Linked DNA regions of Homo sapiens: regions 2 and 3 are each linked to region 1. Evidence: promoter capture Hi-C in human tissues and cell types (Jung and others, 2019). All regions are on one chromosome and are shown on one strand. Each heading gives the region's core, a stretch centred on a gene start or on the middle of the fragment in contact. The rest is flanking DNA. Distances are from core to core; before and after follow the strand shown. Region 1 holds the start of OIT3 (oncoprotein induced transcript 3). Region 2 overlaps MICU1 (mitochondrial calcium uptake 1). Region 3 overlaps MICU1 (mitochondrial calcium uptake 1).

Region 1 (3,383 bases), core at 532-3,031:
TTGGATATGAGTTAAGGAATTATTACTAATTTTCATAGTTGTAATAAAAGCATCATGATTATGTAAAAAAATACAATGTGTTAGAAATGCATACTGGTATGTAAATGAAATTGATAGAATGTTAGTAATTATTATAGCTGAGTGTTCATTATTGTTCTTTATACTTTTGTATATATATTTGAAATTTTTCATCATAAAAAGTAAAAAATGAAAGAGCAGGTCAACTAAAAAGGAAAAAATAGAAATAAGGGGGAAAAAACATCTTACCATCCTGGGAATTCTTGTTTACAGAACCAAAGGCTATCTGGTGAAAGTCCTTGACTCCAGCAATCAATCCTGGCAACAAGTCTGGGTTTATCTCATGCACACGTCCTCTGTTTCTCTGCAACACATATGAAGCCCTCAGATGGCTTCCTAGGCGCAGGAAGTTGTGGGGGATTGTTTTTTCTGTTTAAAGCACTGATACTTAGCAACACTATCCTGCAATGAGACAGCAGAGTCATCCATTGCTGCCATCAAACCACAACTTAATAAGTTAATGGTCAAATTGCCTGTGTCCCACTGATGTTAGTAATGAAGTAGCTAACTACAATTTTAGATCAATGGAAACCCCTTGCTTGACCATAAACCCTGTGCTTCTGGAGACCATGTGTACTTTTGTCATTGTCAAAAACCAGTGATTGCCCGAGCTCGGTGGCTCACACCTGTAATCCCAGCACTTTGGGAGGCCAAGGCAGGCGGATCACGAGGTCAGGAGATCGAGACCATCCTGGCTAACACAGTGAAACCCTGTCTCTACTAAAAATACAAAAAAATTAGCTGGGCGTGGTGGTGGGCGCCTATAGTCCCAGTTACTTGGGAGGCTGAGGCAGGAGAATGGCGTGAACCCGGGAGGCGAAGCTTGCAATGAGCCGAGATCACACCACTGCACTCCAGCCTGAGCGACAGAGTAAGACTCCGTCTGAAAAAAAAAATTGTGCTAAGAAGCACATTTTCTCTCCTTTGTCTAAAAGTGAAACTTCAGGAAATTTTGACATTTAATTTTCCAGAGTGTTAATTTAATGAGTAGTTTCTAATTTTAAGCTCCTACCCCATCTTAATGTGAGAATTAGTGAAATAAATAACATTAAACCATTTTTTAATTTTGGGAGTAAAGACAATAAAAATATGAGGTATTGCTGCTTGAATTAGTAAAAACACAATTTAAACCTTGTTTCTTTCAGAAGTTTTGAGGCCAAAGACCGTAATAAAACAAACTCAGGAGCTTATTTCAAGAGAATACTGTCCTTGTCTCATACCTGTCCTTACTACTTTGTTTTGTGTGCTATTATAAGCTCCTCAACCATCTGACCAAGACAGTTGCAGTGATTTGGCTTCATCCATTCTCGTTTAGTGTGCAGTGCTATGGCTGCAACATTGTGAAATCAATTCCTAGAAGTCACAAAGCAAGAATTTGACGTGAAGGGATGTCCCTCATTTAGAATTCCCTTCTGGATAAGATACTGGGGTTTCATTGCAGGGAATTCTTGAGAGAAAACAATAGGAGGATGAGGGATTGTGAGTTGTGTTTTTTTTTTTTTTTCCTAAAGAAAACTATTAATAAAGGAACCCTGTTGACAGTGTAAAGCAGTGCTTCTCTCTGGGGCCAAGGCCAGAGCTGTGGACACCTTATCCCACTCATCCTCATCCTCTTCCTCTGATAAAGCCCCTACCAGTGCTGATAAAGTCTTTCTCGTGAGAGCCTAGAGGCCTTAAAAAAAAAAGTGCTTGAAAGAGAAGGGGACAAAGGAACACCAGTATTAAGAGGATTTTCCAGTGTTTCTGGCAGTTGGTCCAGAAGGATGCCTCCATTCCTGCTTCTCACCTGCCTCTTCATCACAGGCACCTCCGTGTCACCCGTGGGTGAGTCTCATGTCAAGAACTTGGCACAATGCACTTTTTGTTGTGGCAATTTGCTATAATGTACAGATGATTAAGAACTAGATTCCAGTACCTTAAATGCTAGCTCTAGAATCTTGTAAGAAAAGTCCCTAATAATCCTTGAAAATAGATTTCCCGAGAATTTCTGTTACATGTTCCATTTAGCCTCTTGCCTGGACTCCAAAATTTCCATGGATCTGCCATATCCCACAGCTTTCACTAGCTAAAGAGTTCCTGGAGTATGTGTAAAAATAATTCTATCTTCTTTGTGTTCTAGGCACTTTATAGTTCCAACTTGAAGAGCCAAAAAAAAAAAAATTAAAGTTGAGCATAGAATTTTTCTTTAATGAAGGCAAGGGACTGAAAGCTCTGTTGCCATGGGGGGCACAGATCTGGATAAACCAAACTCATTAGTCTTTATGTCAGAAAATAAGACTTTTTGCACAGATCGAGTGAATCTTAAATTGTCTCCCTCCTCAGGCTTGGTGCAAAACTGGCCAGTCAGGCAAAGAAAAGTTTCAATTCCAGTTACTAACAGATTTCTCTCTTGCATCTTTTTCTAGTAGAATGTGAGTACTAACTGGAACAGAGGGTGGGGGTGAGATGGAGAGAACCATCCTTCTTGACACTTTTGAGTAGCTCAGTATCTAATTGACCCTGGCTTATTTCTTCATGGTTGCTCTAGTACCTGAAAGGATACACATTAAAAATAGGCTTGTGGCCAGGCACGGTGGCTCACACTTGTAATGCCAGCATTTGAGAGGCCAAGGCGGGTGGATCACCTGAGGTCAGGAGTTCAAGACCAGCCTGGCCAACATGGTGAAACTCCGTCTCTACTAAAAATACATACACACAAAAAAATTAGATGGTCATGGTGTTGCATGCCTGTAATTCCAGCTACTTGGGAGGCTGAGGCGGGAGAATCACTTGAACTCGGGATGTGGAGGTTGCAGTGAGCCGAGATCGAACCACTGCACTCCAGCCTGGGCAACAGAGGGAGACTCCATCTCAAAAAAATAAAAATAAAAATAAAAATGGTGATTTGAGACCCTAAGGAGACCTGACACCTAAAGGTAATGTGGGATCCTGGAACAGAAAGATATGGGTGGAAACTAAGGGAATCTGAATAAGTGTGGACTTGAGTTAATAATCAGGTATCAATAGTGGGTCATTAATGTGACAAAGGTACCATGCCAATGTGTGGTAAATGTATGGCTAAAGGTAACGTGTCATAACAAGGGAAACTGGGTGTGGGGTATGTGGGATCTCTTTGTCCTATCATCTCAATTATGCTGTAAATCCAAAACTATTCCAAAAAATATGCTTGAGCTACCTGTCATTAATCACCCCCTATCTGCTGCCAATAACTAACCCAAGGGTCGCTCAGAAAGTTGTCCTCCCGAAAATCTCCACTCCCCTTTCTTCCCACCCTTCTCCTTACCTATTCTCCCTCTAGTACCTCC
Region 2 (3,383 bases), core at 347-2,846, 360 kb before region 1:
AAGAGAGAGAGGGAAAGACATGGCTAATTAACAATGCAGAATTACATGTCATATTAACCTGTTATCTAAATTTGACTAGAGTAGTTCAAATAAATGTGGAGAATTCATCAAACCCTGTCCCATGAGACTTTTAGTACCCTATGTCGTAATTTACATTTCCTCAATCTTCAAAACATTTAACTCTTAAAAGACAGAAAATTTCTTAACAACTTACTATATATGTCAAGGAGTAAAACTACACTTGACCTTATTCTAGGGTCTTATTTTATCTGAGAAATAAAGTAAATAATTAGAACTCGAATAAAGCACGAAGAAGTATTACATTATAGGAAAAAATGTGTTCATATTCTCTTTAGAAGAACCAACAATTTCCCCCAAAAGGAATGGTATTTTAAAGTTAATTTGTTAATATTTTCAAAAAGAACTTTCACCTAGTAAAAGAGAATGTAGTAATATTAAAGCTTTGATTTTCAACTATGACTTCCATCTGTTCCTCTACTAATCATATTGTCTGTTATAAACACTATAATCAATACTTCCCTTTCTTGGTTTTGACTATACTTTTATCTCTTTACAGATAAATGTGGATAATATTTCATTTTTATTTGATGTAAAATGTTTTCTTGTTCCATGTAAACAAATATTCTTGTAGATAACATAAAGGAGGTGGAAATAAAATACACATAAATTTTTTCTTCCAAGTTTGAGAGACTGTCAAGGTTCTGAGGGGACTGTAGTTACAAATAATGGAAAAACTCAATTCAGAGGCAGTATTTCTGAAACGTTCAGGGAGAGGTTGGGGGAAAGGGGAATCAATAGGTAGGAAAGAATAACAAATCTATTCTCTAAAAAAGAAATACATGGTGGTATGATGATAATGAACAATTGGTTTCAATAGACAATTTTATTGCTTGAAAATAGTGTATAAACTATAGCTTTTAGAAGACATAAGGGGACTGAATCCAACGTTGCGGAAATTGGTATTCCTTGCTTAAGGAACAATTTCATCTATACCAAGAAATTTTATTCTGTGACTTTATAAAAAAACATGGTGATGTTTGATGTGGAGAAAGTTGTCTATTACATGCAATAGAAACAGGAAATACAAAATATAATTTCTATCTTTGGTTTGCTGAAGGAAAAAAGGGGTAAGAGAAAATGGGAAAATAAAGAAGGCTACAAACCACTTGAAATAAATCATGCAAATAAAAGAGAGCAACTAAATGATTACATGAAAGAAATATTTAACAATAATGTAAAATAAAGCCTCCACTTAGAAATAATTGCTTTGTTTTATATGCCAACTAGATGGTAAAATCATAAAAGATGATAAATGAAACAAAGAAAAAATATAGTTTTCATTAAATAAATAATCCAAATTCATGAAATGACTGTATTGACAAATTGTTAGCAGAATACATGGATACTAGGGGAAGGTGCTTTTTTTTTTTTTTTTTTTTTTTCTTTTCACAAGAAGGATTCAACACAGGAAGGTGCATTTAGAAAGAATCTATGACATATTACATTAAAACAAAAGCTGGCAGGACATGGTGGCTCACGCCTGTAATCGCAACACTTCGGGAGGCCAAGGTGGGCAGATTACCTGAGGTCAGGAGTTCAAGACCAGCCTGGCCAACATGGTAAAACCCCGTCTCTACTAAAAATACAAAAAAATTTAGCCGGGTGTGGTGGTGGATGCCTGTAATCCCAGCTACTCAGAAGGCTGAGGCAGGAGAATCGCTTGGGAACCCAGGAGGCAGAGGTTGCAGTGGGCCGAGATCACGACATTGCACTCCAGCCTGGGTGACAGGAGCGAAACTCCATATCAAAATAATAATAATAATAATAATAATAATAATAATAATAATGCCAGAATATATTTTGTATTACCATCTCTATAATGCTAATAAGCTATTTATAATAATTTTCAAATGTCTTCTAAGAGAAAATCCGAACTCTTTCAAGATTTGAAGTTTTAAACTTTTAAACCTAGTCTCATATTTTCAAAATAATATCACTTATCTACGAAACATATTCTTAAAACCAGTGGTAACCATAGCTGTTACCATTCTTTATACGAGACCTATGATAGTAGATGGTTTGGAAATGCAATAGACTATGCAAGTGCCAATAATAATGTATTTCATAACTTTTCTACAAGGGAAATTTCTAGTATTCTAAAAGTATTAGTGTCCATTAACATAAAGTAATAATGGGCTCTGGAAAAAGATTCAACTACAAATTCAAAAGCTGCTTAATTAAATTCAGTTCTCACTGACTATCAGTTGAAATAGTAATGTCTTATTTACTTCTTACAGGGAACCTTCTAGTTAATTAAACAGATCAGGAAAAAAATATTTTAGCAAAACAAGAAATAACTATCCAATTATTTGTCAATATCAGTTGCACCACTCTTTCCTATTTTGCATCTGGAGGTTCCATTATTCAGGTAGAAATTTAAAACATCCCAGGAAAATATTATTTTTATATTTGTTCTTACTTTCAATGACAAAAAGGCTGAAGTTTAATTCAATTAGAAGGCAATAAAATAAGCTAGTGTTTGTTACTGGTCAAATTTTGGACTTTGTTAAATGGTGTGCTAAAAGTTAAGATAATGGGGGCTAAGACAATAGGAGTAAATAATTCTTTCTCTAAGATTTAATAGTTTATCTTCCAAATTAAAAAAAACAGAGGGAGAGGGAAAAAAATTATCCATTTAAAAATCAAAGCAAGTCTAAAAGGAAATTCCTCTTAGGTGTTTAGCTTTCTAACTACATTTCTGGCTATAATGCATAAAATTACTATAATATCATTACACACAAATCTGTTTTTTTAACAGAAAATTGTCTTAGAATTCATATATTCTAGAAGCAGTTACTTAAGAATTAAGATTTTCTGGATGAGAGAACAAAAGAGTCATGAAGATCTAAAGAAAAATGATGGTGGCTCATACCTGTAATCCCAGCACTTTGCGAAGCCAAGGCGGGCGGATCATGAGGTCAGGATATCGAGACCATCCTGGCCAACATGGTGAAACCCTGTCTCTACTAAAAATAAAAAAATTAGCTGGGCATGGTGGTGTGTGCCTGTAATCCCAGCTACTTAAGAGGCTGAGGCAGAAGAATCGCTTGAACCAGGGAGTCGGAGGTTGCAGTGAGCTGAGATGGTGCCACTGCACTCCAGCCTGGCGACAGAGCGAGATTCCATCTCAAAAAAAATAAAAAATAAAAAAAGAAAGAAAAATGAAAAGACTGACAGTTGAGAAAGTACTGACAGTTACAATTATCAAGCGAAAGACTTCATACATAACAAAAAAACATGGAAAACTTTTAAACTGATCAAACAATAAATGAATTTATTCATTACATAAGGTTTTATTTTTT
Region 3 (3,383 bases), core at 556-3,055, 320 kb before region 1:
GTACTTGCTCCTAACATTTAAGTATACTCTAAGTTCCTAATTTACTTAGAAAACTGTCTTCTATTATTTGGATTCAAGTCAGGTTAGACTACTTAGGCATCTCCTAAAATCAATGAGCTGGTTACTATTAACTCTTCCCTGGGACCTATACCTATAATCTCTTATGTAAACTTTGCTCCTAGCTCCCTTCATCCAATCTAGGTCCAATTTTGAAATTGGACCTAAATCTTGCCCTCATATAGACAAAATGGAAAAACTGTTAATCTTTTCTCCTATTTTCCATGACCTAAGCTTTAATAACACAATTCTTATATCCTTCCCCAATCCCAGAAATCATCTCATTTTATTGCACATACTCTAGCAAAATCCAGCACCCAGGAGGCTGTCCATTATATTTTCTTCCTGTCTGGCAACTTCTGATTTTTTTTTTTTTGGTTCATTTCAAAATTAACATTTCTCAAATCCACATGTACACTCACATAAATAGCACTGCTCTTCGCTACAGCAAAAATGAGCACTAAACTAAAACATGCATATCTGGAGGAAACATTATTCATCACTGACAACAGAAAGAACAGACACTTGGAAGTTTTCAATGTTTAAAATAAATAACAGCCAATTCAAAAGTTGGAACAGGATGAGTGCAGTGGCTCACACCTGTAATCCCAGCACTTTGGGAGGCCACGGCGGGCAAATCACTTGAGGTCAGGAGTTCGAGACCAGCCTGGCCAACATGGTGAAACCCTGTCTCTACTAAAAATACAAAAATTAGCTGGGCCTGGTGGCAGGCGCCTGTTATTCCAGCTATTCAGGAGGCTGAGGGAAAAGAATCACTTGAACCGAGGAGGCGGAGGTTGTAGTGAGCCGAGATTGTACCACTGCACTCCAGCTTGGTTGACAGAGTAAGACCCTACCTCAAAAAGCCAAAAGTTCTAACAGGCAAGGGGTATATAAGCCTGGAAGATAAATTTACAACATCTGATCAGATGTAGAGAACAGCTAGACATATGATCAACTAAGTAAGCCACAATCACTTGAGAAGGACCTTTGAATGCCAGACCAAGAATTTAGAGCATATGTAAAATAGGAAGCCACTCAAGTTCTTTAATAGGAAGAGATCATGGTAAAAACGGGTTAAAGCATTATCAGTCTATCTATTAGCAGTGCATGGAATAAACTGCAAAGAAGCAAAGGCAGAGAGAGCTGACAGGAAAGTGATGAGTACAGCCAGAAGGCATTAATAACCTAGGTATTGGGTGATGAGTGCCTAGATTATAAGTGTAGAAATAAAAAACAGAATCAAACAAAAAATTTCCAAAGAAAAACAAAATGTAGTTGGGCATGGTGGCACACGTCAGCTACTTAAAGAGGCTGAGGTGGGAGGATAGCTTGAGCCCAGGAGTTTAAGTCCAACATGGGCAACATGGTAAAACCCCACCTCTAAAAAAAAAATAATGATAAAGACATTGGTATCAAACACATATTAATATCTAATTGCACAGGAGATATGGAAGATAAAAAGGAGAAATAAATTAAAACAATAACAACAACACTAGGTACTATGGTAAAAAAAAAAAAACAAACACTAAGTAGTATGGCAGAAATCCAATGATCCAAGATCTGGTCTCAACTGTACTACTCAACAGCTAGCTGTATATACTAAAGAAGCTCATCCCTCCTCCTTGGGAAAAAAGCTCACTCACTGGTAAAATGAAAGAATTGCGTAGGTGAGCTTAGGGTTCCTTTTATCTCTTTAGCACTCTCATATCTTTGGTAGAAAACACTATAACAAAATTTAATTAATTTCATTTAGGAGAAAAGACTAAGATCATATAAAGTATTCAAGATTTATTAGTTTGGGCAATCCATTTCTATATGCTATGGCTCTAGGGGATTTCAAACTTTGAAAGTTCTGAGTTTTACCAACTCAGACCCAGATAAGTTATGTGATTTCCTCATAGCTAATTAGTACAAAAACCTATAACAGATCCTTGCATTTTTGACTCCCAAATAAACTTAATGAGAAAAACCTGTTTAATAACTGTTCTCAGCAGAAAAAATATAACAGCCACACTCTAAAAGTAGATCAAATGCCCAACTACAGAAAAATAAATGATGCTATAATAACATAATGGAATGGAATGTAAATATTAAAAATGATAATAATAAAATATTATTAAAATATTACTTCACAAACCAACAGAAAGTTGGGTAAAGATATAAAAAGACAGTTGGAAAAGAAAAATGGCTCCGAAAACTGTGAAAAGATACTTAATCTCACTCATAATAAAATAATGCAAATTAAACCTATACTCAGATACTTTTCACCCATCAAACGGGCAAAAATCAAAAAGTTTGAAAACACATTTGTTGACAATGTTGCAGAATGGCACTACTGATGAACATGCAAATCTGTACAATTTATGGTGGGCAATTTGGTAATTTGCATTAAAATTACTCATATAATCTGCATATACTGGCCTAGAAATTCCACTTCTAATAATATACCCTACTGATGTACTTGCACACTTGTGAAATTATGCACATGTATATGGTGCATAATTATTATATCATAGTTTATAATAGCAAAACACTAAGAACTACCCCAATGTTCACCAAGAGAGATTGGTTAAAGTATGATAAATCTATATAAAGCAATACCACATAGCAATAAAGAGAATGAGAAAACTTTATGTAAAAACATGAAAAAAGTTCATAGTGTTATCTTTTTAAAAGCAATAGGCCAGCCGCAGTAGCTCATGCCTGTAATCCCAGCAGTTTGGAAGGCCAATATGGGAGGGTCACTTGAGTCCAGGAGTTTGAGACCAGCCTGGGAAACATAATGAGACCCCCATCACTACAAAAAAAAAAAAAAAAAAAAAAAAAAAACTAAGGCAACATATGGAATACCACATACAGTATGCCACCTTTCATATAAAAAAGGAGAAAATAAGAACGCATATGTACTTATTAAGTAACAACACACTCACAAAAAGTAATAGTAGTGGTGCTGGTGGGAGTTGGAAATAAGATAACATACAGAGAGATTTTTATGATATGCTATTTCATTTGAAACAAAATTTATGTATTTATCCATGCAAACAAATGTACAGTATTTCATATTAGCATTTTCATTTAAGTTTAAAGGAAGAATATAAGGTAATATGCACATGCCAATTAAACTTTGTAAAATATATAATCACATGGTTAATTTTTTATTTATAAATAAAATTTAAATTAGGCAAATAAAATTTAATGCTCCCCTAGGGATTTTATTTAAACTTTTTCATTTAAGTAAAAATAAAGGCAGGCCCAGAAGGCAGTTGTTGCATTCCCCTCAGCCAGGAACTGTCACTTACCAGCCCCACCACTGAGCTCAGGCC

The links. The method cuts DNA at HindIII sites, captures the fragments that hold promoters and counts their contacts. A contact is called where the count stands out against the background at its distance.
Region 2: a fragment that was not itself captured here is called in contact with the fragment with the promoter of OIT3 in region 1 in 1 of the 25 tissues and cell types used here (IMR-90 fibroblasts).
Region 3: a contact is called between a fragment that was not itself captured here and the fragment with the promoter of OIT3 in region 1, in 1 of the 25 tissues and cell types used here (IMR-90 fibroblasts).

The regions. Positions count from the first base shown.
Region 1 is chr10:72,891,958-72,895,340 of GRCh38, forward strand. It overlaps OIT3 (oncoprotein induced transcript 3), which reads left to right and starts at 1,782. Exons shown (of 9, transcript NM_152635.3): 1 at 1,782-1,902. The coding sequence starts at 1,842. The HindIII fragment of the contact is 12,875 bases long and covers 1-3,383 here.
Region 2 is chr10:72,528,507-72,531,889 of GRCh38, forward strand. All of the region lies in intron 5 of MICU1 (mitochondrial calcium uptake 1), which reads right to left. Among named protein-coding and RNA genes, the nearest start is that of MICU1, 96 kb to the right of the region's middle. The HindIII fragment of the contact is 3,476 bases long and covers 1-3,334 here.
Region 3 is chr10:72,570,447-72,573,829 of GRCh38, forward strand. The region is part of intron 1 of MICU1 (mitochondrial calcium uptake 1); the gene reads right to left. Among named protein-coding and RNA genes, the nearest start is that of MICU1, 54 kb to the right of the region's middle. The HindIII fragment of the contact is 4,136 bases long and covers 1-3,383 here.